2 separate regions of the Homo sapiens genome follow, and region 1 is linked to region 2. The links are contacts of gene promoters, found by promoter capture Hi-C in blood cells and fetal thymus (Javierre and others, 2016). All regions are on one chromosome and are shown on one strand. Each heading gives the region's core, a stretch centred on a gene start or on the middle of the fragment in contact. The rest is flanking DNA. Distances are from core to core; before and after follow the strand shown.

What was found. Contacts are between HindIII fragments. The CHiCAGO score rates a contact against its expected background, and 5 or more counts as called.
Region 1: a contact is called between a fragment that was not itself captured here and the fragment with the promoter of PTGDR2 in region 2, in 1 of 17 cell types (naive CD8 T cells). The highest score is 8.1, in naive CD8 T cells.

The regions. Positions count from the first base shown.
Region 1 is chr11:61,131,669-61,134,911 of GRCh38, reverse strand. It overlaps VPS37C (VPS37C subunit of ESCRT-I), which reads left to right. Exons shown (of 5, transcript NM_017966.5): 3 at 705-876; 4 at 1,575-1,657; 5 at 2,373-3,243. The coding sequence ends at 3,092. Among named protein-coding and RNA genes, the nearest start is that of VPS37C, 28 kb to the left of the region's middle. RefSeq lists an enhancer at 1-155. The HindIII fragment of the contact is 780 bases long and covers 1,262-2,041 here.
Region 2 is chr11:60,853,953-60,857,269 of GRCh38, reverse strand. It overlaps PTGDR2 (prostaglandin D2 receptor 2), which reads left to right and starts at 1,320. Exons shown (of 2, transcript NM_004778.3): 1 at 1,320-1,401. The HindIII fragment of the contact is 12,934 bases long and covers 212-3,317 here.

The sequences.
Region 1 (3,243 bases), core at 402-2,901, 280 kb before region 2:
CTTCTGTCTCACTGGCTGGCAGCGACGAAGAGCCTGGCAGAGGGGTAAAGTGCCGCTTGGCTTGGGGAAGTGTTTGCAGCAGGGAATGTCCAGGGTGGCCCCTCTGGCTCATCTGTGCAGCTTCTCTGCAGGACACATGTGTGGCATAGGAGGCAGGTCCAGGTCTCTCCTAAGTCAGTGGCATGGTCTGGTCCAGGGACCTGGCTCTCTCACCCCTCACAATAACTTTATTTGGGGCCTCATTATATGTCTTGCCTGTGCATCTGGCCAGGACCACCTGAGCCCACCATGGTAGGTCTCTTGACTCTGAAGCTTGGGGATAAGTAATTGGGACTTTTGATCCCCTCCCTCCTGGAAAGCCTCTGCTTTTTCTCATGTAAATTGGTCCACCCCCTCCTTGGGGCTCTGCACATTCCATCATGGATATCAATCACATGGCCTTGGGCGAGCTCTTCACCTTCAGCGCCAGGTTCCCATGCGTCTCCACCTCGTGGGCTGTGGGTTAAGGATTAAGTGAGGCGCAGAGTACTTCATTCAGGGTTTGAACCTGGCTTTGTCTGACTAGTTGAGGGCTGAGTATTGCCCCAAGGATGAGCCTCTCCGCCCCAAGGTGAGCAATGTGTCCCCGAAGCCCCTGACCCAGGCTGCCAGGAGGTTAAGGGTGATGGACGTTTTCCTTAGGTTCTGTTGTCCTGCCCTTTTAGGTCCAGGACCTACAGCTGGAACGGGAGATGGCACTGGCCACCAACCGGAGCCTGGCAGAGCGGAACTTGGAGTTCCAGGGTCCCCTGGAGATCAGCCGCTCAAACCTCTCGGATAGATACCAGGAGCTCCGGAAGCTCGTGGAGCGGTGCCAGGAGCAGAAGGCAAAGCTGGGTAGGGTGGCTCCTCTGTGAACTCAGGGTCCCCATTCAGGGTTGGACGGAGGCCCACCGTGTTCCCAGCCCTGTGCTAAGTGCTTTATGTATATTTTTTCACAACAGCCATAGAAGGGTGGGTACTGTTGTTACTCCATTTTATAGGTAAGAAAAATGAGGCTCAGAGAGATTCAATAACTTGACTAAGGTCACCCAGCTTAGAAATAGGTGGAATTGGGATTTGAATTGAGACAGCCTGCATCCTTTGCTGCTGCCGTTACCCTTGGCAGCTCAGCTTCTATGCTTTACTGAGCTGTTCCTGAGCTGCTCTGGGCTCTCTGTGTCCCAGGACCTGTCACCTTTGAAGGTGGGAGGGTGGTCCTTGTCTTGATGGTGAGAAAGCTTGACACTCAGGTTAGGTAACTCCCCTTGCTGGCAGGCAGAACTGGGTCAGTTGGGCTCTGAAGCCCAAGTCATTTCCCATCCCAGGATGGCGTAGGGTAGGCTTGGCCAAGGTCTAGGCTAGGTTCATTCGGGCCCTTCTCTGCTCAGGAAGGAACTGGACCAAAAGTGCTCATCAAGCCCACCCAGAAGGACCCTTTGGTGGACCCTGCTGTGGTGGCTGGGCCTGGATGCACACAGAGGGTATGCAAAGTGCCTTTAACACTGAATCAGGAAGCACTTTTCAAATGTCAGTCGTTCTGCCCTCCCTTCCAGAGAAATTTTCTTCAGCACTGCAGCCAGGGACCTTGTTAGACCTTCTGCAGGTGGAAGGCATGAAGATCGAAGAAGAGTCCGAGGTGAGAGGGCGAGGCGACACCCCTCTTCCCTGGACGGGGTGTCAGTCCCTGCAGCAGGGGCCCTTGGAAGGAGAAGCAGATGTCTGCAAAGCATGGAACAAGGGAGCTTTCGTAGATGGCAGAGGTGAAGGACATCTTTAGTCCTGGGGAGGCCTTTTGGGTATAAATAACAGGAACCCAGTCCCACTAGCTGAAGCAGAAACGGGTGACAGTGGACAAGGGCAGCTCGCAGCCCTGGATGGTAGGGCAGCACAGCAGGAGGCCCCCAGGGGCTGAGGCCAGCTCCCTACTCCACTCTCCCTGCTTCCTGCTTCCCTCCGGCCACCTCTTCAGCCTCTGTGGGCAAACTGGTGCTGTCCACTCTGTGTCTGGGTGGAAGAAGCTTCTAGGCCCTCCCAGTCCCTGGGCTAGTGCTCATCCAGGTGTTCAGCACATATATGCAGTGGCCACTGTGGGCCTGGCATGATGCCAAGGTGCCAGGACAGAGGTGACCACGACAGAGACAGTCCTCGCCTTCAAGGGACTGACATTCTAGTGAGGGAGACAGTGCATGTACCATATGTCAGCTGTGAGAAGGGGCGTATGGGCAGGGAAGAGGAGGGGGTGCCTGAGGCGGCGTGAGGTGGGAGGGCTGCAGCTGAACTCAGACCCTGGGGAAAATCAAGAGGCCTTGATCCCAGCTGCCCCTGTTGTCACTGGACCTTATGTCTTCCAGGCCATGGCTGAGAAGTTCCTGGAGGGCGAGGTGCCCCTGGAAACGTTCCTGGAGAATTTTTCCTCCATGAGGATGCTGTCCCACCTGCGCCGGGTTCGCGTGGAAAAGCTCCAGGAAGTGGTGAGGAAGCCCAGGGCTTCCCAGGAGCTGGCCGGCGATGCCCCTCCACCCCGTCCACCACCCCCGGTGCGCCCAGTCCCCCAGGGAACACCCCCTGTGGTTGAAGAGCAGCCGCAGCCACCATTAGCCATGCCTCCCTACCCTTTGCCCTACAGCCCATCCCCCAGCCTGCCTGTGGGCCCCACTGCCCATGGAGCCCTGCCACCGGCCCCTTTCCCAGTAGTGTCCCAGCCCTCCTTCTACAGCGGGCCTCTGGGCCCCACTTACCCGGCAGCCCAGCTTGGACCCAGGGGTGCTGCGGGTTACTCCTGGTCCCCACAGAGGAGCATGCCACCCCGGCCGGGCTATCCTGGGACCCCAATGGGTGCCTCTGGGCCTGGGTACCCCTTGCGGGGAGGCAGGGCCCCCAGTCCTGGTTATCCTCAACAGTCCCCATACCCCGCAACAGGAGGAAAACCTCCCTACCCAATACAGCCTCAGCTCCCCAGCTTTCCAGGCCAGCCCCAGCCCTCAGTGCCCCTGCAGCCCCCTTATCCCCCCGGGCCCGCCCCTCCCTATGGGTTCCCACCACCGCCGGGGCCTGCCTGGCCTGGGTATTAGACACACTCCTGGCCCTCGGCCCCTCCCTAGTCCCACCCACGCTCAACCTTTGGCCCAGCCATCGCCGAGATTCGAGGGTCAACTGGAAGTGGCGTTGGTGCTCCCTGTGGACTTGCGTCGGCACCCAGAGGCCTTGGAGGGACAAGGCACT
Region 2 (3,317 bases), core at 71-2,570:
CCACTCATGATGGTAGCCTCTCAGCAAGAGCGTATTATGCATTAGTCTCTGCGTTAAGACTAGGCCTAAATGGAAGATGCTTGTGCTGTCCATCTCATGGGAGGTGCCTTTGCCTCGATACAGGGATATTGAGTTCTTAAAATGTTTTAATGAGTATCCATTAGGTGCTGAGATGCTGAGGTTGAAGGGATGGTCCTGACCCCAGGAAGCTTGGTCAGCAAATGAGAGTAAGGAGTTAGGGAACAATGAAATGCAAACTTCTCTTATCCTAGGGCTTTGAGCCTGTGTGTTTTTTTGTTTGTTTGTTTTTGTTTTTTAGTTTAAATTTCCATTTTTTTTTTTTTGAGATGGAGTTTTTACTCTGTCACCCAGGTTGGAGTGCAGTGGTGTGATCTCGGCTCAATGCAACCTCCACCTCCTGGGTTTAAGCGATTCTCATGCCTCAGCCTCCCAAGTAGCTGGGGTTACAGGCATGTGCCACCACGCCTGGCTGAGTTTTGTATTTTTAGTACAGACAGGGGTTTTGCCACATTGGCCAGTCTGGTCTTGAACTCCTGACCTCAAGTGATCCATCCGCCTCGGCCTCCCAAAATTGAGCCTGTTTTAAATAAAAGCTATATGACCTTTGCCTTAGAGCCTATATTCATTTTTCCCTCAGAGGAGAAGGAAGCTGATTTTTATAAGCACTTACTGTGTGCCACGAGCTTTGTGCAATCCATCTCATTCAACCCTTACCACAGCCTGTAAGGCCGATGTTACTGCTCCCGTTCACAGATGACAACCCCAGGGCTCAGCAAACAGAAGTGACTGACCTCTTGGACTGCGTTCTTGCCACTGCCCCCACTACCCCACTGTACTTTCCTGGCCTTAGAGCCCTCGGGTCCCTCATGGACAGGCCCCCACACTGCCTGGGAAACTCAGAACAGCTGGAGGGGTTTCTTCTCTGAGGATTCTGGTGTCGGGAGATGGAAGCCCAGGAACAGTGGACAGATGGATGAGACATTCTCCTTCTCACGCACTTATCCTACACACTGGTCACTCTCAAAAGCACACCCCTAGTCACACTCGGGCTCACACTCTCTTGCACACATCGATTTTTTCACGTGCACTTGCACTGCCCTCTGGACTTCTGCAGTCTCCTTCATGAAGCGGGGATGGGTGGAGCAGGGGCTGCCGGCATTGATGGAAATTGATGATATTTGAACATCTGTGTGGCAACTCACTCTCCAGCTGTCCCCGCCTCCCCCAACCCCACCCCTAAACACACATGCACTGGGGCTGACAGCTATTTCCTCTCTCAGCCTCCCTCTCCCACCTCTGTCTGCCCGCTGCCTCTTGTCTAGCTGCTGTCAGGAGCTGACTGCCTCCAGGGCTGGAATCCTGTGCTCCCTCTGTGCCCAGGTAAGGAGGAGTGGCCCAGGGGTTGGGCAGCCTAGTGCCCTCTCTAGACCCACAGAAGAAGGCAAAGTTTTACCAGGTGAGAGGGCTGTTACCAGCTAGGATGGCAGAAGATTGAGTTTACCAAAGACTGGAGGGGACTTGGTGCTCAGAGGAGGGAAGGATTAGCTTCTCTTAGGCATTAACTAGATGTCAGATACGAGGGGAAACCACTCAACTGTCTGTCAATATTCACAAGCAGTCTGGGTGGGAAGATGACACCAGCACGCTTAGAGTAACTGGCCCAAGGTCACGCAGCCAGGAAGCTGAGGAGCTGGGATTCAAACCCAGGTCTTGGACTCCCACAGCTTGCACTCTCTGTCCCTTTTTTTTTTTTTTTTTCTTAACCTGCCAAAGCCGGACCTTAGCTGCTTGGCTCCTGAGAATCCTGGGAGGCTGGGGGCTGTCTCTATAGAGTTAGAAGGACTGATCTGGTGGTGCCCAAGGGTGTGGCAGGACTGTGCTCTCTGATCATCCCCATAGGACTTGGATCAGCAGCAGCTGGTCTGCAGGGAATGTTTCAGGGCAGACAGCGGGTGGTACTTGGCTATCTGCTGGGAGTGAAGTCCCAGCCCCACTGTTGCAGCTGAGGAACGCTGGGCAAGTTGTTGTTTCTTCTTCTGAAAAATGGGGTGTCATAGGTTCATTGCAAGAGTAACTGCTCTGCACATTCTAAAGCCTAGGAAGTATGACCATTCTCAGGAAGCACAGGCTCCTCTTCCATCTACCTGCAGGTCTCTAGCTCCAAGGGGCTCCTCCGCCAGCAGAATTCTAGTTTGATATTCCAGAACCCCACTCTACAAAGGACTGTGGTCTCTGGAAGGGAGTGGGTTTTCTCATCCTGGCCAACAGTGTTTTCCCTAGAAAGATGAGTACTGAAGACCATTGCTCCCCTCTCCCGCTTTTCTTCCTCCTCCTCCATCCTCTCTTCCTTGGAGTAGGGGTAGAGGAAAGAGCACAGGCTGAGCATGAAACTTTCTCCTCCACATGTTTGTGCTGTCTGGGTGGCTCTGGGCCAGTTATTTAACCACTTGAGGCTCAGTTTTCTCATCTGTAAAATAGGATGGAGTACTAGCACCATTTTTCTAGAGCCAGAAAGACAGCACCTATGTGAAGGACCTACCATAGTACCTGGAGTGTCATTGGTGCCCAGGACACCCTGAGTCCCTGTCCCCTGCTACTTGCCTCCTACCTCCTGCATGGAGCCTCATGGAATTTCCTCAGCCCTCACTGGTCTTGACCAGCCTCACATCAGATGGTCTTTCGGGCTTTCAATGAGGATGTAAGCATGCACGTCTTATTTGTTGGATGAGTGCATGATGGAGTAAGTGAATGAACAGGGGTGGGTTTCCTGGGGCGGAGAGAGCTGCTGTGGCTGCTCCTGAGAAGGGAGAGATCTTTTGGCCCCACTGGGCCTCCAGAGCCCCATGTGGGAGTTCCTCCTCCCCAGCTCTCCTGGCTCTTATCTTATTTCCTCTCCAACCATCAGAGGAGGGGCTGGTTCCACTGTTTATGGTCGGCACATCTAACCAGCCACCACTGAGTGCGGGGAGCTGCATGGAGGATCTGTAGAGAGGCAACATCTGGGGGCGCTGTGGATGCTGTGGGAAGGGGCAGCATCTCCATCGCCCAGGCCAGCAGAATCCTCTTGCCCTAATTGTGGGGCCTCCTTCACCCGCCAGTGCTCTGGGGATGGGAAAAAGGAGTCCTGTGTGGCCTGACCTTGTTCCTTTTTCTCTGTGTGATCTTAGACCATTTGCTCCATAATCATCACAATGACACTGATAAAGTGCTTGCTCTGTGCCAGGCCATGTTCTAAATGCTTTTATGTATTAAACTCACTTAATTCTCCCAATAACTCTATGAGCTAGGTGATGTTA